7 separate regions of the Homo sapiens genome follow, and all the other regions are linked to region 7. Evidence: promoter capture Hi-C in 16 types of primary human blood cells and fetal thymus (Javierre and others, 2016). All regions are on one chromosome and are shown on one strand. Each heading gives the region's core, a stretch centred on a gene start or on the middle of the fragment in contact. The rest is flanking DNA. Distances are from core to core; before and after follow the strand shown.

Region 1 (3,033 bases), core at 1-2,500, 690 kb before region 7:
AGAAAAAAAAATCAACTTATGATTTTATTATACAAAGGCTCAAACTATCTGGATGCCTGAAAATCACCATAAATGAAATTCAAAAGCAAAAATAAAAATAAAAATTTATGCAAAAGTAGACATGCACATGGCTACTAAATATATATTAAAGAAAATGCATATTAAAACAATAATGAGATGCCATTTCTTTACCTTATAAAAGGTATACTTACATGGATATAGTATTAGGTCAGGAAAAAATAAGTACTCAGATACTGTGTAGGGTTCATATTAGCTTAATCTTCCCCCAAAATTTGACAATAAAAATAAAAGCCTTATTTTTATTGTTTTTGCCAGTATTACTTCTAGAAAATATGCCTGGGTGTGTATGTGTATAGGTGTGCTAAATTATACAGAAAAGAAATTTGAAAGTATATAACATACATAGTAGTCATATTTCAGTGAGATAAATGGTTAAGTCTCTATGTTAATATTCTTTTTTTTTTTTTTTTTTTGAGATGGAGCCTCGCTCTGTGGAGTGCAGGTACGATCTCAGCTCCCTGCAACCTCCGCCTCCTTGGTTCAGGCGGTTCTCCTGCCTCAGCCTCCCAAGTAGCTGGGATTACAGCTGTGTGCCACCATGCCCAGCTAATTTTTGTATTTTTAGTAGAGACAGGATTTCACCAGGCTGGTCTCAAACTCCTGACCACAGGTGATCCGCCCGCCTCGGCCTCCCAAAGTGGTGGGATAAGAGGCCTGAGCCACTACACCTAGCCTCTACCTTAATTTTCTATACTGCACATATTAAGTTTTATTTTTTTAAAAACTACAGAAAATGTGTGTTCATACACTTTTTAATCTTAAATTCATTCTCAGTGTTAGGAGAATTGGTAATCAGTACATCATTTCTGGAGGACAGTGTATACTATATACACTATATGTAAGTACATATATATAAGACATGCTCTTTGGTTCTGTCAACTTAAATTCTACTTTATATTAAGGAAATAATCAGATTCAGACTGCCTGGGTTTGAATCCCAGGTACACTACTTACTTTTTGACTTTGGGTAAGTAAACCTCACCATACCTTAGTTTTTTCATCTATAAAATGATAGATTATTATGAGGACCTAGATTATTATGAGGATTAAATGAGTTAATACATTAAAATGCTTAAAACTAGGCCTGACACATAGTTATCATTCAATAAATGTCAGTAGTTGTCATCGAAAGTATTATTATAAACACATAGTTGTGCTCAAATGAAGTTTATGTTAATATTGTTTACATTAAAGAAACATTGGAAATGTAGTATGACCTTCTTTATGTAATACATACGTAATACAGAAATCGATATACATGTACGTCATATCGTGTATTTACATAAGCATAAGCAAATATGCTTATATATGTTTATTTGTATACATATACAACTATATATAAAAATACAGGCCAGGCGTGGTGGTTCATGCCTGTAATCCCAACACTTTGGGATGCCAAGGCAGTAGGATTGCTTGAGGCTAGGAGTTCGAGACCAGCCTGGGCAACAAAGTGGGAACCTGTCTCTACAAAAATAAAAATAAAATTAAAATTAAAAAATAAAAATACATATATACACAAATATAGAAAGAGATACACCAAATATAAAAGAGATACACCAAAAATAAAATGATTAGTTTGTTTTTAATCTGCATTTTCCTATACATCTAACATGTATATATTACAATTATAAAAACTTCATAAGCAATTTTGTACAAGAACAACATTTATTCCAGTATTTTATAGAATACTGAAATATTGGAAATAGTCTAAATAGTCAACAATAAGGGGTTGACATAATAAGTTGCTGTATCTGTAAGGAGGAATTTATATAACCATTAAAAATTAATATTGCCATAGAAAATACTGTTTTTAAAAACTTGTTACTAAGCTAAATCTGTTATTATAATATACAATAAGACCCTGATTTGGTTTTACTCATATTTTCTAAAGGAAGTACAATAAATTTCCATAGAGGTTTTCTCTATACTGTTAACATTATACCACTTTCAATTTTCTTCTTTGTATAATGTAAAATTTTAATAATAAGCACAATTTGCTCATAATTTTGCTTTTTTAAAAATCAAGGGAAAATATAGTAGGAAATCATAAAATTTGGGTCTTGTCTTGATTGTGCCTCTAGCTGTTTTACTTCAGTACTTCCGTTTTCCAGCCTTCTATTTCTTCATCTATAAAACCAATTTGATTAATTTATCAATTTCTCTAGCAAGTCTCTGACCCCTCTGAAATCTTATCAGTAACATATTTAGTTTTACCTTTTTGATATCACTATTTCGATTTAAAGAATAGGATGGTTTTGGCCAAGCGCGGTGGCTCACGCCTGTAATCTCAGCACTTTGGGAGGCTAAGGTGGGCGGATCACCTGAGGTCAGGAGTTCGAGACCAGCCTGCCCAACATGGCAAAACCCCATCTCTACTAAAAATACAAAAAAAAAAAAAAATTAGCCGGACGTGGTGGTGGGCGCCTGTAATTCCAGCTACTCAGGAGGCTGAGGCAGGAGAATCGCTTGAACCCAGGAGGCAGATGTTGCAGTGAGCCGAGATCGTGCCACTGCACTCCAGCCTAGGTGACAAGAGTGAAACTCTTGTTTCAAAAAAAAAAAAAAAAAAAAAAAAAGAATAGGATGGGTTTGATTCATTTTTCTGTTATTTCTTATTTGTTAAGGCCATATTTTTTAGAAGCTACTTGTGGTTTATTTCTGCAGTTCATGTTCTTTGGTGGAATGAGAGTGCAGATAGTCGTGCAGCTGGGAGACATAAGTCCCATGAGGATCCCAGAGTTGTGGCAGCTGGTAAGCTGTTTGACTAGGCATGAATTATTTTTAGAACAAATGTGTTTCAGTCAGTAACTCTATATGCCTTTCTATGAAATGTTTTTCCAGTTCGGGAAAGTGTCAACTACCTAGTATCTCAGCAGAATATGCTTCTGATTCCTACATCGTTTTCACCACTGAAATAGTTTTCTACTGAAATACAAAACATTTCATTAACTG
Region 2 (2,895 bases), core at 349-2,848, 660 kb before region 7:
CTTTCACTTGAGAGCCATACAAGACATAGGCTACAAAGGCACTGCCCCTGTAATGGAATTTTGTTTTCATTGCATTGAATTGCATTGCATTGAATAGTATCAGTACAGTATCCAGTTTACTTCTTCCCACATCAACTTCTGGCTCTTTTCTCCACAACACTTCACATGGTGCAAAGGAAAGTCTAGTTCCTCTTTACTTTCAGCCACCCCGTATGAACAGGATTCTTCATACATAGCTTTCTTTCACTTTCTCATCCTGTAGAAAAGATGTGAGAACTGCAACGTCCACTACTGTCTGGTTTTTGTGTAATGAGAGGTCTTTTAAGTGGTCATCATCACTTTGGTCCTTGGCAAAGTTCACAAATACCTGTTAAAAGATTAAGATGGACCTTTATAAATACCACTCAACTTGCTCATTCTTTATTCTAGTTCTATTTTTCCAGATGTTGAAATTAGGTCAAGTAGGAGCATACAGAATTACATAAATGGATTAACTAGAAAACTGTGTGTGAAGGAGGGAAGAATACTTGAAAAAAGCAATAACAACTTAAAAATAGACTTTTTTTCCCCCCTTGAAATGGGGTCTTGCTCTGTCCCCAGGCTGGAGTGCAGTGGCGAGACCTTGGCTCACTGTAACCTCCACCTCCTGGGTTCGAGCAATTCTCCTGCCTCAGCCTCGCAAGTAGCTGGGACTACAAGTGCGCACCACCATGCCCAGCTAATTTTTGTATTTTTAGTAGAGACGGGGTTTCACCCTGTTGGCCAGGATTATCTGGATCTCCTGACCTCATGATCTGCCTGCTCCTCAGCCTCCCAAAGTGCTGGGATTACAGGCATGAGCCACCACGCCCGGCCAAAAACTGACTTTCTATATCGCCCCCCACCCCTACATCACCAACTGCTCAGTCATCCATTTACTTTGGCACATACGGTCTTGATTAAAGGGAAGAGGGAAGAAAATATTTACTGAGTACTTCTTAAGTGTCAGGACCTATTTGGTACTTTTTTATCTAATTTAAATAGGATTAGGCACCAAGTAAAATGCCTGGCCCATGGTAGGTGCTCACTAAATGGTAGTTTTTATGGTTATTATTACAGTAAATTCTCACAATAATCCTATAGAGTACATAGGCATCATCTCCCTTTTCAGGTTCAGAGAGGTTTAGTAAAAAGCATAGCTAGGAATAGTAGATCAGGAATTCAAGCACCAATTCAAGATACAAACTGCTCTTGGACCTATGGGCGGGAGTGTCGGGGCAGGAATCCACACCCTGAGAAGTAAATCTGTTTTGACACTCAAAGCTTACTTGGTCAAGTGTTGTCTGAGAAACAGAGTAGTCTTCTATGTGGAGTCGCTTTTTGCTCTGGGAGAGGATGCTGAATATCCTGGCCAGAGAAGATAATGAAGATGGAAGCTGGTATTGTAGCATGTTCCGGTGTTTCTCTTTTAGAACACTTCCAGGAAATGCAAGTCCAAAGAAATCCTGGACAGGCTTCAGGTCCGGGTTGGACCCTGCTATTCGTACAACTATTGTATAACCATCTCCAAACCTGAAAGCAGGAAAAAATACCCAAATGGAGGATCTCCAGAAAACTATTTAAAAGAATACTGAACCCTGGGAACCCAACTTGTGCCATGAAAAAGGGCGGCCCCTGGCAGGCCCAGAAATAAGTTTCTGAGAGAAGGAACCAGTTATCATTTACTAAATACTTATTTTATGTGAAGCACCATGCCATGTGCTGTAAATACATGATCTCCTTTAATCCTCACCTGGACCCATGAAGTCTGACAGATGTTACAGAGAAACTGAGGCCCAGGGAGTTAGTCACTTGCCCATGGCTCAGAGCTCATAATTGGTAGGGCCAGGATGCAAACCCATTTGTGTTTGACTCCAAAGCTTGCGCTCTCACCAGTACTGGCACATGTAAATTTTTTTCATTTCATCTATAGCACAAAGCTAGGAGGTAGATCTTCCAGGGAAACTAACTCTTACAGTAGTTAAGTCACTTGCCCAAGAGTCACAGAACCAGTAAATGGTAAAGACAGAATTTGAATGCAGTTCGGACTTCAAAGCCCTCATTCTTTCCACTATACTGTTTTGCTCAGTTTTATTTCCCTTTATGTTAGAGGCACCATTTATATACTCACAAAAGAATAAATATCAAGCCTTCTCACTAGGCACTATCCCAAAGAAATTATCTTTATTACCTATTTTTTAGATGCTGGACACTGCCAAGGCACCTGAACCTTCCATTGACCATGATTGCCATCCTAGTGCAAAGAGCTTCACATTCTTCCATACTGCGGTAAAACAGAAAGAGGTTTTAGTTTTAGAGAGATTCTCTGTAACCATGAGAACATCACCATGACTTCCAGCATTCCAGCTTCCTAGGGAATTGTATTCTGTTACAAGTACATGTGGATATAGGGATGATGCTGTTCAGTGTAGTGGTGTTTACAATTGTGAACAAGTTGGAAATAATCCAAATGTCTACAAAAGGGGGAATAGTTAAATAAGAGTATATCCTAATGGAATACTATCCAGCTATAAGAAATGACACCTAAATGCACTGACTTGGAATAATGTTTACAATATATTAAGTGAAAAAGAGCAGTATTTATACTGGGCTTGCATTTTTGTAAGAATATGCATATATAATTTCAGGTAATAATTGTTTTACTCTTTGCTTTTCTGTATTTTCTAATTTTTACAAAATGATCGCATATTCTACTTGGAAAGTTAAAACATCCCACAGTGAGGAACCCAAGACTTTACTACGGACCTATGAGATGTAAGCACTACTGATCTCCCCTCCTTGACAACACTTAGGGCACAATTCCACAAGAACCGCCGGGCTTTGGGATCCATGCCTGTGGTGGGTTCATCCTGTAAT
Region 3 (2,909 bases), core at 312-2,811, 610 kb before region 7:
GGGAAGAAGCAAAGAAAACAGTTGGAAGAGGTTCCCTTTTCTTCCACCCACAGGCTGATGACTCCCTCATCATCTGTCTCCAGCCCAACCACCCTCCTCCACTGCAGACCTCAGTAGCCACTGGCCTACTGGACATCGCTACCACCCACCCAGCTAGAAATCGAGACTCACTTTGATGCCTCCCTCTCTTTCACTGCTCTGCCACTAAGCAGTCACCAGGCCTCATTTCTTGCTTTATGCCTTGGCCACTTGGAGAGCCTCCTCCCTGGTCTCTGCCTTCATTCTTGCCTCATCCTTCTTCAATTCATCCACCCCATCAGAGTAACGTATCTACATCTCCCCTTGCCTGGTCCCCTAGAGCTTAAAGTAAAGGTCCTCAGCTTGACACACAAGTCCCTCCAAGGCATGCCCATGCCTTTCTCTCCAGCCCCAGATCCCTCATTTCCAAGCATACACACTGGATTTTCCCAGCTAGATTCCTAATGAATGCCATTGCCATGTTTACAAGGATCTTGTCCTTTAAGAACTGGGAGCTTATGAAGAATTGAAGCACCTAAGGCAAAGTCAATTTCAGACTAGGGAACCATCTACTTGCCCACAAATCAAAATTCACTGAGTCACTTCACAGGGCCTCCTATAATCCTCTGAGAGCCAGACAAACAGAAAAAGTCCAACTAGTAGAAATATGGATTCCAAGGAGAGGACCAGGAAGAACAGGTCTGAAACCACACTTAGGTCTACGGGGCTAGATCATATAACCCTCCTTTAGAGAAGAGACCCCACTTTAATGGCATGAGCTATATTAGTCAGTGTGAATCCATACAAATCACTGTTTATGCTTTTCTCAGTATAAACTCCTTTGTTTTTAAAGGGACTTCCTCAGTAACCTGCCTCCCAGCGGATCAGGGAATAGTCCTAAACTTCGGAAGTGTTCCCCCTAGGTAGGTACAGTCTCTAAAACCCAGCCGCCCTTAAAGTCAATAAGGTTCAAAACAAGAAACCTGGCAAAATCCTCACCTGCTTCTTAAGGGGAGCAGAGACAAAAGGAAGAGGCCTCCCTCACCATGGAAACAGGAAATAGTCTAATGATTCTCTAACTCAGCCCAAGGCAGGAAGATGTGATTAACAGCACTCAGGCTCAGGCAAAGGAGACATTCTGTTCTTGCTCAGCCTGCTCCACATTTGAACCCAATTGTCTCTAGAGCACTTATCCCTTTCAAGTGGCTCTGAAGCACTAAGTGCATTTCCCCTCCACACAGTAACAGCAGCTCATCATTCACACAGTGCCCTGAGAATGAGTATCTCAGGCCAGTCTACATGTAACATCATGCTTTTGCTCCCACACTTCTTTCCAAAACCTACCAAGACACAGGGAGATGCTGTGGCTGGCTGAGAGGCTGCAGCCAAAAAGGAAAATAGGGTACTGCAATTACTCAACTCCACTTCCAAACACCAGCCCTCACTAAGTTTTGCAGAAAACTGCTATTTGACCGTGAGTGGCATGGATGCTGATATGCACAGCGTTATCTCTGCACCATGGCCTGTACTTCTGGAGAGGTGGTGCCCTGTGACTTTAGCTATGCTCACTACATTCCCCCAGCTAGATAAACTGAAAGAATTCTCACCTCACTCACACCTGGGAAAGTGACCAGAAACTCACCTCTCCAGTATCAAGCAGGCACATGGTAATAATGGGAGGGACACTCACCCGGACAAGGTCCATTTCTTGGCTGTTCTCCATGAAGGTCCAGATCTTGGGGCTGAGTTCCTCCCACATGCCTTCCAGATCATGGAACACAGCCAGTTCCTGGAAGGTCTTGTTCACCTGGAGTCAGGTGGGGAGCCAGGGACCGCAGAAAAAGGAGGAGAAGCACAGACAATGAGCGTTTGGCTCCTCCCTGAAAAGATACCCCATCACAGCAGCCCTGTGCCAGTCCTCCCCATCCCCAAGAAATGCCTGCTTGTAACTATGATTCTATACCCACGACTGGGGAGCTGGCCCAGCTCTGGTCTGCATCAGACTTGAGGTTTTCACTCTGGGAATTCCAGAAGAGCCGTGAGTATACTTAGCGCACACCTCTGAAGCTACCTTGAGTTTTTTGCCCCCAGTTCTGGGGAGATTCTGGGGAGGGAGTCTTGGGCTGGGGGCAGCTTACCTCAGCCATGACCTGCCTTGTGGCTGGAGTGTCAGGTGTATACAGGATCTTCCCAACGAGCAGCGGCTTCAGAGCTTTCCAGATAATGCGGGAAAGAGGACTAGACTCCAAATTCTTCATCAAATCATTGCAGTAAGGAGCTATGAAGAAGAGGAGAGACAAATGCTCATATGCATGGTCATATACTGATAGAAACTTACAAGGGCTTTGGAGCCAGAGAGTTCTTAGTTGAAACCCCAGCTCTACCACTACTAGTCATATAATAAGTAACTTATCTGAGCCTCAGTTGGCTCCTCTGTAAAAGTAAAATTCATAACATCTATGTGGAGAGATGTGGAGAAGATTATCTCAGATTAAACTGAGATATCTATAAAGAATGATGCTTGATAAATAATCAGAGCTTATTATAACGTCAATGACGGATAACTCACGACTGAGCTGATCTGGAAAAATGTTTTCATGAAGCACAAGCCCTCCCATCCAGATTCACACTCTCATGCCAGCCTCACCATTGTTTTCACTGACAACTAACATGACCAACATTTAAACTGACTCTTGAGGGGCAACCAGAAGGCTGAATTCAGACCTCAGTTTTCAAGCAAAAACCAAAATTTGGGGCTGGGCGCAGTGGCTCATGCCTGCAATCCCAGCACTTTGGGAGGCCAAGGCGGGCGAACCACCTGAGGTTGGGAGTTCGAGACCAGCCTGACCAACATGGAGAAACCCTGTCTCTACTAAAAATACAAAATTAGC
Region 4 (2,978 bases), core at 272-2,771, 570 kb before region 7:
GAAGAAGAAACAAAGAACCAACATCAGAAAAAGCAAGAAGATAGCTGAGATGAAAACTCTACCTGAAGACCAGAGAGGCAGAAAAATGAGAGAGGACAGCTGGAAGACAAAAGGAGTGAAAAGAAGGTAAGAGATAGGAAGTATGAAGAAACAGAGTCCAGAAACAGGAAAGACTACATCAAACAGAAGGGGAAGAGAGAAAAAGAAAAGAGAGTTTGAGGCATTCAGTTCCCAAGGATGAGCTGGTCTCTCACTGAAAAAAGGGACCAGACACTTCAAACACCACACAACATGGGACTAGAATCAGCCTGCAGGGCCCTGAGAAGTCCAGGCACAAAAAGAACGGAAAAAGATGAGTTTACAAGTTGGGGATGAGATTCTTCCTAAGGCTGGTCTAGGGAAGAATTAACATACACAATGTATAAATAGTTTAATTTTTTTCTAACTTTTAAAATTAACAAAATTTATTAAGGGACATAGTAGTGCTTTGTGGGCACAGAAAAGTGACTCATATTTACCAAGCATTAGGCACACTATTAGCATTATTTTCCAGAATCTTTAAGAACAGCCTATAAAGAAACGTATTATTATTCCCATTTTTCAAATGAGGAAACAGATCTGGAGAATATCTTGCTCAGGGTCATAGAACAAACAAGTGGTAAATTTGAACCCAAACAGCTTTGACTGCAAAGCTTTGGTTCTTTCCACTATATCAGCAATTTAATGAGATGTTTTAAAAATGCTTCATCGTGATATTGGCCTCAAAAGCTGGGGATGGCACCTATGCTTCCTAATGTTGGAATAAGCAACATGGCAGCATAGTGTGGGGAGAAAATGCTAAGCCTAGGAGTCAGACCCCGATTCAACGTACAACTTTACTCTTTAATCTTGGACAACAGACATTACCCTTTCGAGCCTCGGTTTCCTCATCAATGAAATGGAGATAATAATACCAATTTGCCCCTGCTAGTGCTGTTTGAAGCCTTCAATGTAATAATATATGAAAAATGTAAAATGGTATCATTATCCGGTGCAACTTAGTCTGTTGAATAGTGTCGCACTGAGATTGCCTTTTGGTGCCTCAATGCAACAGTGACAAGAGGACCAGAAATGGGAAAGCTTTCAATGAGAAACAAACTGGACTCCCAAATTGCTCTTTGCCACCCACAGAATAAATAAACCTTATGCTGGAAAAGCAGGAGACACGCAACACTGTTCTTGATGTTAACAATTCAAAACTTTTTAAAGGCAGTCTGATATTTGTGGGGATACACACTATTCTGTAATCGAATGCAATTGTGTTTTCTATTCTTGTCTGAGTAAAGCTGATCTTTGATTTGATTTAGTTCAAGTAATATTTCAACATTGCAGTGCAGCGTTGCTCCCCACCCCCACCTGCTTACAGCCCAGCTGGGCCCAGGCCCTTGCCCTGGATGGAAATCAAAGACCTGGTTTCTGAGATGCAGCCTGGCTTTGACAGGTCTGGGAAAACTCATGGTAGTGGAAAGGTTTCCAAATATAAAATTCTAAGGCCTCAAATCAAAACTTTTGACAAGTGCATACATACAGAACGTGAATTGCAATCACCTAAAGATTTCAAAGAATTTCCATTTTGATGACATAATGTTGACACATGTATCACCAGATCTCCCAACAAGATGACACACTGGGGTTCCACAAGGACAGAAAATATAGTCTGAGGCTGTAACCTCAACTTTAGCAGCTGCCTGAATGGGTGAGGGGGTTCAGACAGAAAATGAGAAGTGGCTGTGAGTCACAGGATGTTCTTTCTAGATGGGCCTTGGGAAACATTCCATCGGTGCCTGAAGCCAGGAAGTGGAGTGAATCTGGCATTTCTTTCAGAAGCCCTCTTGTCTCCTTTCTCATCCCAGCCAGCCCATGCCCCATGTCCTGTGACTTTAGGGAAGCTTCTGGCTACTCAGAGCTGCTCTCTTTAGGATATAACAACAACAGAGCACGAGAAACTGGAATTCTGGTCCTATTACTGCCCCTTGCCAGCTGTGCTTTCTTAGGCAAGTTACTTGGCCTCTCTGAACTTCGGCTCCTTCATGTGTGTATCCCCTGCATTTTATGATGATTGTAAAAATGCAGTGAGCTTAAGAACAAGCCTGGTACCTATGCTGGGCCAGGCACTGTACTAAGTGCTTCCCCTTATTCGTCCATTAATTTGCCACAATAGTCCTGAGGGAGGTACTATTGTTATTCCATTTGAGGAAACTGAGGCACAGAGATGTATGGAATTATCCAAGGTTACACAGCTGATAAGCATCAAGCCAAGATTTGAACCTAGGCCATCTGGCTGCCAAGTCTGTTCTCTTAACACGAAGGTATATTTCCCAGGGAATATTTACAAGATGTTAATTTTCTACCCACTTCCCTCAACTCCCTGCCACAGCCAACTATCTTGCCATGTCACCAAAGCCACCCTGCTCCCTGGAGCTCACGTCTTTTTGATTTTCAAAAATCAAACCAGAATCAAAGGTCCACCCCACTGAGTCCTTAGTACTATCAGTAAATCTGACAGCCAGAGAGGCATGACCCTTTTCCCTAAGTAAAATCCAGTATAACCCTGGGGACTAATTTCCAAAAAGATTAGTCAGAGCCATATCAGAAAGGCCAAACAGGCTGGGCATGGTGGCTCACACCTGTAATCCCAGCACTTTGGGAGGCCAACGCACCTGAAGTCAAGAGTTCAACATGGCAAACATGGTCAGGAGTTCAAAGATGGTCAGGAGTTCAAATGGCCAACATGGCAAAACCCCGTCTCTACTAAAAAATACAAAAATTAGCCAGGCCTGGTGGTAAGTGCCTGTAATCCCAGCTATTCGGGAGGCTGAGGCAGGAAGAATTGTTTGAACCCGGGAGGCAGAGGTTGCAGTGAACCAAGATCGTGCCGCTCCACTCACTCCAGCCTGGGCAACAGAGTAAGACTCCGTCTCAAAACAAAAACAAAAACA
Region 5 (2,927 bases), core at 185-2,684, 640 kb before region 7:
CATGCCATTTAAAGTCACTGAGATACTCCTAACTGAAAGACCCCAACTGACCAAGTTGATGGGAAGGAAACGAGAACAAACATTTGCTGAGCCAAGCATTCAACACTAGGCTGCCATGTCCTGGGAAGCTAGAAGGCTCTCCCAAGGCTGCAGAGCCAAGGCAGGCTCCTAAACCTTCCCAGAGCTCCCTCCATGAGACCACAAATTATCATGGAGTCCCCCATCAGAGAGTACCCAAGGCACTCTATGTACACCATTTAATTTAGTCCTCATGACAAACTTATAAGAGCAACATTAATATCACAATTTAGATAAACTAAGGCTTTAAAAGGATAACCAGTTACCTGGTCAAGTTGCTACTAAGTGGCAAAATTTGACGTTGAATCCATTTCTATTTTCATTCTAGACCAGGCTGCCTCAGCCTTGAAGCTGACAACTGAATGTTCACAGTCCCTCTCGTCATCTTTTCTAGTTTGGGATAATATCCTAAACTTCCAATAGACAGAATCAGGCCATAATCTGGCATTTCCCCCACTGTTTCAGTCTGTTATTTGTAGGTCTTTAATTCCTCTAATTAGTAATAATACGGCAGGGGCCAAGTTTAGTAAAAAGTCACCTTTTGGCTATGATCTGCACATACGTCTTCACCAGATAATCCGAAATGTTTCTTCCTGTCAGGTCCTGAAGGATATCTGCAGTGTTTTGTTTTCTCTGTCATCACATGAAAACCAAGCATACGGGTCTTTATAGACAAGAATTGAAACAGAAAACAAATCAAGGACAACAGTGACCATGTCCACAGTGTGACCGGAAACCTGACTACAGGTCCCAGACACTGCCCTCAGTCAACCAGCACTGAGACTTGGTTCACCCTGCCCTCGGCACTGGTAATTCACTTACACCAAGCCAAGGTCTTTCCCAAGAATTTATTCTGAACATCTAAACAATAAACATTGAAATGAGATTCTTTGTAGTCAAGAGATTTTTAGGAAGCACCATCATTCACTATGCCTAATAAATCTTCTGTTCACTGGAGTTATACTGATGACTAGATTAGCTGTTATTTTATTCATTTTATTTTTTGATATGGAGTTTTGCTGTGTTGCTCAGGCTGGAGTACAGTGGCGCAATTTTGGCTCCCTGCGACCTCCACCTCCCAGGTTCAAGCAATTCTCCTGCTTCAGCCTCCCAAGTAACTGGGATTACAGGCATGTGCCACCATGCCTGGCTAATTTTTGAATTTTTAGTAGAGACAGGGTTTCGCCACATTGGCCAAGCTGGTTTCGAACTCCTGACCTTAGGTGATCAGTCCACCTCGGCATCCCAAAATACTGAGATTACAGGTGTGAGCCACCCCGCACCTGGACTAGCTATTATTTTCAAGAGTGGTAACCAAGCCTTCTTTTAGTTCCTGTACTCATTTAGAATTGCTTGTCCTCATCCTGCAATTTGGTTGCTGATAAAAGCAGCAGAGAGCTATCATAAGCACTCCTCTTCCTGAAATTCTCAAGAAAAAAAAAATGGCTCAGGACTCCTTCCCAAACAGAGTCTCTAAGAATACCAGAGTTGACAAGATCCACAGGAGTTTTCTGGTCCAGCCTCCCTAATTCAGAGGTGAAGAAACAGGCCCAGGCCTGTCAAAGGCTACCAGCTCATTTGTTGCAGAGCCAAGATTGGAAGCCAGGCCTGCCACAGTCTGTCCTGTGACTTTACTGCTGTGGGACAGGCATGGGCACAGTGTGGTCCAAACCTTCTCCCCTCAAAACTCACATGCTTTTTCTTATGACAAGAAGCGAGTTAAAGACTGAAACAGGGCTGGGCGTAGTGGCTCACGCCTGTAATCCCAGCACTTTGGGAGGCCGAGGCGGGTGGATCACCTGAGGTCAGGAATTCCAGACCAGCCTAGCCAACACGGCGAAACCCTATCTCTACTAAAAACACAAAAATTAGCCAGACATGGTGGTGCGTGCCTGTAATCCCAGCTACTCAGGAGGCTGAGGCAGGAGAATCGCTTGAACCTGGGAGGTGGAGGTTGCAGTGAGGCAAGATCATGCCACAGCACTCCAGCCTGGGCGACAGAGCAAGACTCCGCCTCAGAAAAAAAAACAAAAAACAAAAAAGACTGAAACAGACCCTCCCAACATGATATCTCACTCATTCCTGCTTCCAAGCGGAAGCTACCAGCCCATCCTGCACCCCTTCTGCCCAATCACCCCCTGAAAGTGACTCACTTGTGGAGGAGGCAGCCCCCCTGCCCCTGGGGGACACACAGGCAGCATCTTCTTGATTTTGTCGCTGCTACACTGGCATGCAGGTGAAGGGTTCTGCATTGTCCAGTTCCCATTCTGGAAGAGGTCCATGATGGTCTGGGGAACTGGGGCAGTGGTCCACTCTTCCTCCCCTGCCTGGCAGGGCGTGTCTCTGCAAAGGGAAGACAGCAAGAGTAGGATTACCAGAGATGGCCTGGCCTTTCTGTTGCCTCAGGAGCACAGGATCATTCCGTAACAACCACAAACATGCATCTATTCCCTCACCATTTGGAAAAGACAAGCATGATCTCATTTGATTGCTTGATCCCACAACAGCCTTGTACACTGTGACATCATTTATATCATCATTATGTATCATTTTATACATAAGTAAAATAGAATGCAAAGAGGCCCTAAATATTTACATACTGAACTCAGTTCAATCCAATCAACCAACCATTTGCTCACACAACAAACATTCGTTGAGCATCTACTACGTGCCAGATGCTGTCCAGTATATTCGAGGGCCTAAGGTGAAAATACCTGCCTTCATGGAGGTGTATGCCCATGGAGGAGACGAACAACAAATACACTAATAAGATAACCTTAGATGGCCCAAAATAAAGCAAAATAAAAAGACAGTGACTGGGGAGAATGAACCTACTAAGAGAAGACATT
Region 6 (2,829 bases), core at 194-2,693, 590 kb before region 7:
GGGAGCCTCGGGGCACCCTCACTTTCCCTTCTTTCCCTCATGAACCAAGATCCACTTGGTGGGAATGTGCTAGGCACACTGGAAGACACGTGGACAGTGGAACCACTGGTTCCACAAAAACCACTTCTTTTTTTTCCCCACGTTATTGAGATGGAGATAAATCTGCATGCCTGGACTTCCAACCTTAAGGATCAGACACCATTTTCACATCACTGAGGCAATGGTGAGTCAAGGACAGAGCCCAAACCTAGCTCATTCAACCCCACATTCCTCCCACTACAGCCCACAGTGTCTGTGTTGGCAAAGACTGCTGTGAGGGAGCTGGTCGAGAGGTCATCAGTGAAACTGGAACGAGGACAGCTCTCACTCTGTAGACCCAGGACCTACAAAGAATTCCTCAAATTCCCAGACTCAGCCTTCAGCCTGGATCTCAATGCCCATCAGAATGAAAGCTCCAAGTGCATCACAACTGCCTTGTTGGTGGTCGAACTTCAGTGCCTAGAACAGTGCTGGTATAAAGCAGACATACAATAAACACTTGATGGATTTTTTTCGATGAATGTCTCATACCTAGTTCAGAGATGTTCTCCTCCCAAAGTCACCTCTGTTTGGTTTGTACATTAAAAACCCTAATAGGTGATGCTTATTATGCTTTAGAGTCACTTTCCAAATATGGGCAAGAAAAAGCAGAGAGCTGCAGAGGGGTCAACAAAAGCCAAAGGCACTGAGGGAACACTTCAAATATATGATAAACTATTCCTTCCAATCAAGAAAGCTACAGCAGACTGAATATCCCCTGCAAAGATGTCCACACCCTATTCCTGGAGTCTGTGAATATGCACATTTCATAGCAAATGCACTGTGTAGATGTAATTAAAGTTATGAACCTCAAAATAAGGAGATTATCCTGGATTATGTGAATGGGCCCAAACTAAACACCTGAGCCCTTAAAAGTAAAGAACTTTCTCTGACTGGAGACAGATGTGACAGGAGGCGTCAGAGGTTTAAAGTGTGAGAGATACTCAACCCACTTGTGGGAGAGGAGTCACATGAAAAGCATAAGAAGGAATGATGGCAACCTTTAGGAGCAAAAACCAGCCCCTGCTGACAGCCAGCAAGGAAATGGACTTCAGTCCTACAACTGCACGGGACTGAATTCATCTGATATCCTGGATGAGCTCCAAAGCAGATTCATCTTCAGAGCCCCCCCAAAAAAACACAGCCCCACAAACACCTTGATATCAGCCCTGTGAGCCTCTAAGAAGTAGACCTAGGTGAGCTCTACTGTATCCTGGCTTCTGGCCTTATGAAATAATAAATGTATGTGGTTATAAACTGCTAAGTATTTGGTGACTTGTTATAGTAGCAATAAAAAAAAAAAGTACAATCGGAAGCAAATCAATCTCTCGGGCCAAAATTTGCTGGTCCACTACTATGGCTCCTTCCTGCAGTCCAAAACAGATTGGAGGTTTCTGTGAGACAGGAAGGTGGCCCTCTCCTCGCTCTGGGAAAGGTACATGCTGCTTTAGGAAGGACCCAAGAGAAAGTTAAGAAAAGTTCACCTGCCCAGCACACTCTACAGCAAAATACACCTTGCTGAGCAGCAAGACAAAAGAAGCCCCTGCCAGGTGGCCCTGAGCTCCTCCTAGAAGTTGTTAACTCAACAGTACAAATACAATGAGCGCACTCCATAACAAGTCTCCCTCATGACTAAGTGCATTTATCCCACAGATAATATTTCATATATCCACCCACCTTTGTTCTCATCAAAAGGATATCTTTTGAGTTGAGTCCAGCTCCTAGAAAATACCTGACACATAATAAGAACTGAATAAATATTGCTCAATGCATGAGTAAGATTTTTAAGTAAAAAGCAGAGAACACCTAATGGAAACTGCTCTTAACCCCAGGGAACTTTAAAAACACAACAGCGTTCTGACATCCAGTATTAATTTTCACACAAGGTACGGACTGAGACATAAATAAGAATCTTTGGGTGAAAAGTCTTGACAATATCTGAGCAAGAATGCAGTTTTTCACTGAAATACTCACCAGGACCACTTCGCTTGGTATGAGTTCTAACACTGATCTACAGAAGAAAACTTCTATCTTTTTTTTCTTTTTCTGAGACAGAGTCTCACTCTGTCACGCTGGCTGGAATGCAGTGGAGTGATCTCAGCTCACTGCAACTTCCACCTCCTGGGTTCAAGCGATTCTTGTGCCTCAGCCTCTTCAGTAGCTGGGATTACAGGTGTGCGCCACCACGCCTGCCTGGCAAATATGTGTATTTTTAGTAGAGAGGGGATTTCACCACGTTGGCCAGGCTGGTCTTGAACTCCTGGCCTCAAGTGATTCATCCGCCTCGGCCCCCACAATATGCTGGGATTACAACAGATGTGAGCCACTGTGCCTGGCTGAAAACTTCTATCTTGACGCAATTGTTTTCAAGGACATAATTTCTACTACTCATGTCAATTAAATTATCAACTTCTATTTATTGAGCACCTATTGTGTGCCAGGCCCCACACCAGGCTCTTCATATGTGTAACCAATAATCACAACAAAGAGTCAAATATATTATGTGTATGTAGAAGAAGAGAAAACTGAGGCTTACAGGGACTAAATAATTTATCCGACATCAATGCTGGTAAAATATTCAAATGCAATATTCAAACCCAGACCCAGCTGACCCTCCCACACTGCCATACTTTCCCCATGTTGCCAAAACACTGCTTTCCAGAGCACCCAGATTCTGAAGGAGGCCCAGGAGAAACTCACAATACCCTTGGCTGGAAACAGGGAAACACTCACGCACACACAAAAGGAGAA
Region 7 (3,067 bases), core at 202-2,701:
CTGGTCTCGAACTCCTGGACTCAAGTGATCCACTCATTGGGCCTCCCAAAGTGTTGGGATTACAGGTGTGAGCCACCATGCCTGGCCTAAGTTTTAATTTTAGCACCTATAACCGTCTAGCACGTTAACTTTTTTTTTTTTTTTGGTTGGTCTTCTATACTAGATTGTAAGCTCTGTGAGAGAAACAGGGCCTTGCCCACTACTGAATTTTGTTTGTAGAACTGGTACAGAATAGGTACTCAATATGTATTTCCCTTTTATTCATTCATCATAAATGACTGTCTAATTGAACTTTTGTGAGCCTCTCCAGAGTCATCCAAATGGAAGATGAGGCCTGTCTGCTTGAGGAAGAACTTTCTCAAGCCTACTAAATTCCAAGCTTTCTAAAATCTTCATTGATGCCTCAGGCCACACCGAGCAGGTTCTAACTCCCCACTAAGAATGACTATAATGGGCCTGGCACATGCCCTGTAACCCACACCTGTAATCCTAGCAATTTGGGAGGCTGAGGTGGGCGGACTGCCTGAGCTTAGGAGTTCGAGACCATCCTAAGCAACATGGCTAGAACCAGTCTCCGCTAAAAGTACAAAAAATTAGCCAGGTGTGGTGGGGGCGCCTGTAATCCCAGCTACTCATGAGGCTGAGGCACGAGAATTCCTGGAACCCGGGAGGCAGAGGTTGCAGTGAGCCAAGATGGCACCACTGCACTCCAGCCTCGGTGACAGACCGAGACTCCATCTCCAAAAAAAAAAAAAAAAAAAAAAAAAGAGAATGACTATAATTTATTCACTACTAATTATGTACCATACGTTATTTAATCCTCACAATCCTCTGCAAAGTCCGCATTATTTCTCTCATTTTACAGATGAAACAAGCTCAGGCAGACTGACTTGCTCAAAATCATACAGGTAGCGAGGTGCCGGGGAGGATGGGTGGGTCCCCGGGAAAAACTGTGCCAGGCCCCAAAGCTCATATTAATCCCACACCCACGTTTCCGCCACTCTCATCCCTATATCCCTCCTCCCACGTTTCCACCACATCCCCTAAAGGTCTTTTCCCACGTTTTCGCTACATCCCCACCCCAGCCCTTTTCCTCCCTTTGGACCGCTGGGTCCGCTCAAGCCTGGCTGCCCCTCGAAGGATAGTGTGGGGAGGGGCTTCAGATGCGTGCTGGGTGGAGGGTGGGCTAATCCGTCTCCAGCACCAGATACTCTTTCCTTCCCGGGCCCTCCGCACCGGCCGGCTGCTGGATGCCCAGTGGCCTATTTCAGGGCCGGAGAGACCGCTATCGCTGGAGGAAAAAGGATGGGGGAAGGGAGTGCAGCCTGCAGAGGCACTAGCGGTAGACAGACGGGCGGCGCTCCCCACCCTCCACGGCTACTTCCCGGGAGCAGTCAGCCGCTGCGCGCAGGCGCGGTGCGCTCCTCAGCCCCTCCCTTCTGCGGGCCGCCCTTTCACCCTGGCAACCGCGGCGTGACTACGGCGCGCGCGGTCTGGGCGCGGACGGGTGGGGCCGGGCGGTGCCGGTGCGGGCTGGGGCAGTGCAGTGAGTAGCGGTCTTGGGGTGTGCGATCTCGCTGAGCCTCCTCACACGGTTCGTCGTCTCGGGTTCGAGCCCAGTGGGCTTAGCCACTCGCCATGGACTCCCAGAAAGTAAGCGGGGGAGGGGAGCCCGGGGCTACCGAGACAAGCCGGGCCGGCACAGGGTGGGCGGGGCGCCTGGGCCCGTGGGCTGTGGGTGCGCGGGGTGGGCCTGGCCGGGCGTCCGGGCTGCTGCTGCGGAGGGCAAGGCCGCCCGGCCGCTCTCTGGGCGGGAGCTAAGAGGCGCCCACACGGATGCGGGGACCGCGCCCGGTGACTCGGGCTGGCCTCTGCTCTGCGCGCTGTCCGGGGCCCTGACTCTGGAGGAGAAACGGAGCCATCCCCCTTTTAAAATCAGCCACTCTGCAGCGCTTTAGGCCGGTTTTCATGCCTGCAGACTGCGAGCGTGCTGGTGGGGGTGTATCCCTCCTCAGCAGGTGAGGAAACCGAGGCACAGCCTTTTTGGTGTCTCCCTGCTGACGCCGAAAGCTGGGGCTTTCTCCTCGACCAAGTCTCGTCTCAGCACCACGCTCTTTAGGTCAGGGACCGAATCTCCTTTGTACCGCCCACCGCTCCCCTTCCCATGACTTTTCCTAAGTAGATCTTAGTGTTTAGTGTTCGTTGAATGGAGGGAAAAGACTTCAATTGTTAGGGCAGCCTTCCCACTCTCTGACCAGTTGGTGTTGCTGGGCACAGTTACTTAGGGGTCGTTGTGGAATGTTTTATACTTTCCGAACAGTTGAGGAAAGGTTATATAATCGTAAAGGTTCAATTCAGAAGTATTTGGAGAACAAAGCCAATGTCTTGAATACAGTTAGAAGTGAATTATTCAGTCATAATCTCCATATGAAAATAACCACCCTGTTCTCTTTGTTAGACTATAACGTAATTGAAATATAGTACAGGGTAGGAAAGAAAAAACAAGGAGTATTAATAATGTAGCAGGGAAAACAAAGACATATCTAAGAGACTATTCTTTTCTATTATTAGAAAGCACGGGAAAGACTTAGAACAACGTTTTCTACAATTTTGTCTACATTCACCTTCTTGAGGATCACTTCACTGAGGGCATGAGAGAATAATGATGTGTTGAGCATTGACTATTACAGTATTTAACAAATATGCATATGATTTCATTGTATGTGTTGGTCTTGAAACTCACCTTGGAATGCATGACTATTCTTAAGGCATTTTTTAAAAATTAGATTTTGTGTATTTTGAGTATGTATAGGTTTAAAATATTGTCTCTGCCTAAATTTGTAAAACATCTCTCAGCTTATTAGATAAAAGAAATGATATTTGAATGGACATTAGCAGAGGTCAAGTGAAGGAGCAAAGTCCGGAGACATGGGTTCCAGGATGCTATTTACTAGCTCTGTGATAAGGAGCAAGTCACTTAACTGTGATTAATCTGTTTCCTCATCTATGCAGTAGAAGTAAGAGTATTTTATAGTGTCATAGTAAAAATCTGATAAAATAGTTTGTT

The links. The method cuts DNA at HindIII sites, captures the fragments that hold promoters and counts their contacts. A CHiCAGO score of 5 or more calls a contact.
Region 1: a fragment that was not itself captured here is called in contact with the fragment with the promoter of FSD1L in region 7 in 2 of 17 cell types (monocytes and activated CD4 T cells); the score reaches 8.3 in monocytes.
Region 2: a contact is called between a fragment that was not itself captured here and the fragment with the promoter of FSD1L in region 7, in 3 of 17 cell types (monocytes, naive B cells and total CD4 T cells). The highest score is 9.1, in monocytes.
Region 3: a fragment that was not itself captured here is called in contact with the fragment with the promoter of FSD1L in region 7 in 8 of 17 cell types (non-activated CD4 T cells, total B cells, fetal thymus and 5 more); the score reaches 7.2 in non-activated CD4 T cells.
Region 4: a contact is called between a fragment that was not itself captured here and the fragment with the promoter of FSD1L in region 7, in 7 of 17 cell types (naive CD4 T cells, naive CD8 T cells, non-activated CD4 T cells and 4 more). The highest score is 6.6, in naive CD4 T cells.
Region 5: a contact is called between a fragment that was not itself captured here and the fragment with the promoter of FSD1L in region 7, in 1 of 17 cell types (monocytes). The highest score is 5.2, in monocytes.
Region 6: a fragment that was not itself captured here is called in contact with the fragment with the promoter of FSD1L in region 7 in 6 of 17 cell types (activated CD4 T cells, naive CD8 T cells, total CD4 T cells and 3 more); the score reaches 9.8 in activated CD4 T cells.

The regions. Positions count from the first base shown.
Region 1 is chr9:104,756,340-104,759,372 of GRCh38, forward strand. NIPSNAP3A (nipsnap homolog 3A) reads left to right here. Exons shown (of 6, transcript NM_015469.3): 5 at 2,746-2,832; 6 at 2,923-3,033. The coding sequence ends at 2,999. Among named protein-coding and RNA genes, the nearest start is that of NIPSNAP3B, 6.3 kb to the right of the region's middle. The HindIII fragment of the contact is 8,593 bases long and covers 1-3,033 here.
Region 2 is chr9:104,784,089-104,786,983 of GRCh38, forward strand. ABCA1 (ATP binding cassette subfamily A member 1) reads right to left here. Exons shown (of 50, transcript NM_005502.4): 47 at 2,785-2,888; 48 at 2,210-2,302; 49 at 1,308-1,551; 50 at 1-367. The coding sequence ends at 227. It also overlaps a transcript of NIPSNAP3B not described here. Among named protein-coding and RNA genes, the nearest start is that of NIPSNAP3B, 21 kb to the left of the region's middle. The HindIII fragment of the contact is 596 bases long and covers 1,301-1,896 here.
Region 3 is chr9:104,835,272-104,838,180 of GRCh38, forward strand. ABCA1 (ATP binding cassette subfamily A member 1) reads right to left here. Exons shown (of 50, transcript NM_005502.4): 10 at 2,157-2,296; 11 at 1,709-1,825. Among named protein-coding and RNA genes, the nearest start is that of NIPSNAP3B, 73 kb to the left of the region's middle. The HindIII fragment of the contact is 5,491 bases long and covers 1-2,909 here.
Region 4 is chr9:104,871,610-104,874,587 of GRCh38, forward strand. All of the region lies in intron 5 of ABCA1 (ATP binding cassette subfamily A member 1), which reads right to left. Among named protein-coding and RNA genes, the nearest start is that of ABCA1, 55 kb to the right of the region's middle. The HindIII fragment of the contact is 809 bases long and covers 1,118-1,926 here.
Region 5 is chr9:104,804,010-104,806,936 of GRCh38, forward strand. It overlaps ABCA1 (ATP binding cassette subfamily A member 1), which reads right to left. Exons shown (of 50, transcript NM_005502.4): 31 at 2,232-2,421; 32 at 617-711. Among named protein-coding and RNA genes, the nearest start is that of NIPSNAP3B, 41 kb to the left of the region's middle. The HindIII fragment of the contact is 3,067 bases long and covers 1-2,927 here.
Region 6 is chr9:104,853,089-104,855,917 of GRCh38, forward strand. The region is part of intron 7 of ABCA1 (ATP binding cassette subfamily A member 1); the gene reads right to left. Among named protein-coding and RNA genes, the nearest start is that of ABCA1, 74 kb to the right of the region's middle. The HindIII fragment of the contact is 9,731 bases long and covers 1-2,829 here.
Region 7 is chr9:105,446,583-105,449,649 of GRCh38, forward strand. FSD1L (fibronectin type III and SPRY domain containing 1 like) reads left to right here and starts at 1,452. Exons shown (of 14, transcript NM_001145313.3): 1 at 1,452-1,653. The coding sequence starts at 1,639. RefSeq lists a silencer at 1,333-1,942. The HindIII fragment of the contact is 4,464 bases long and covers 378-3,067 here.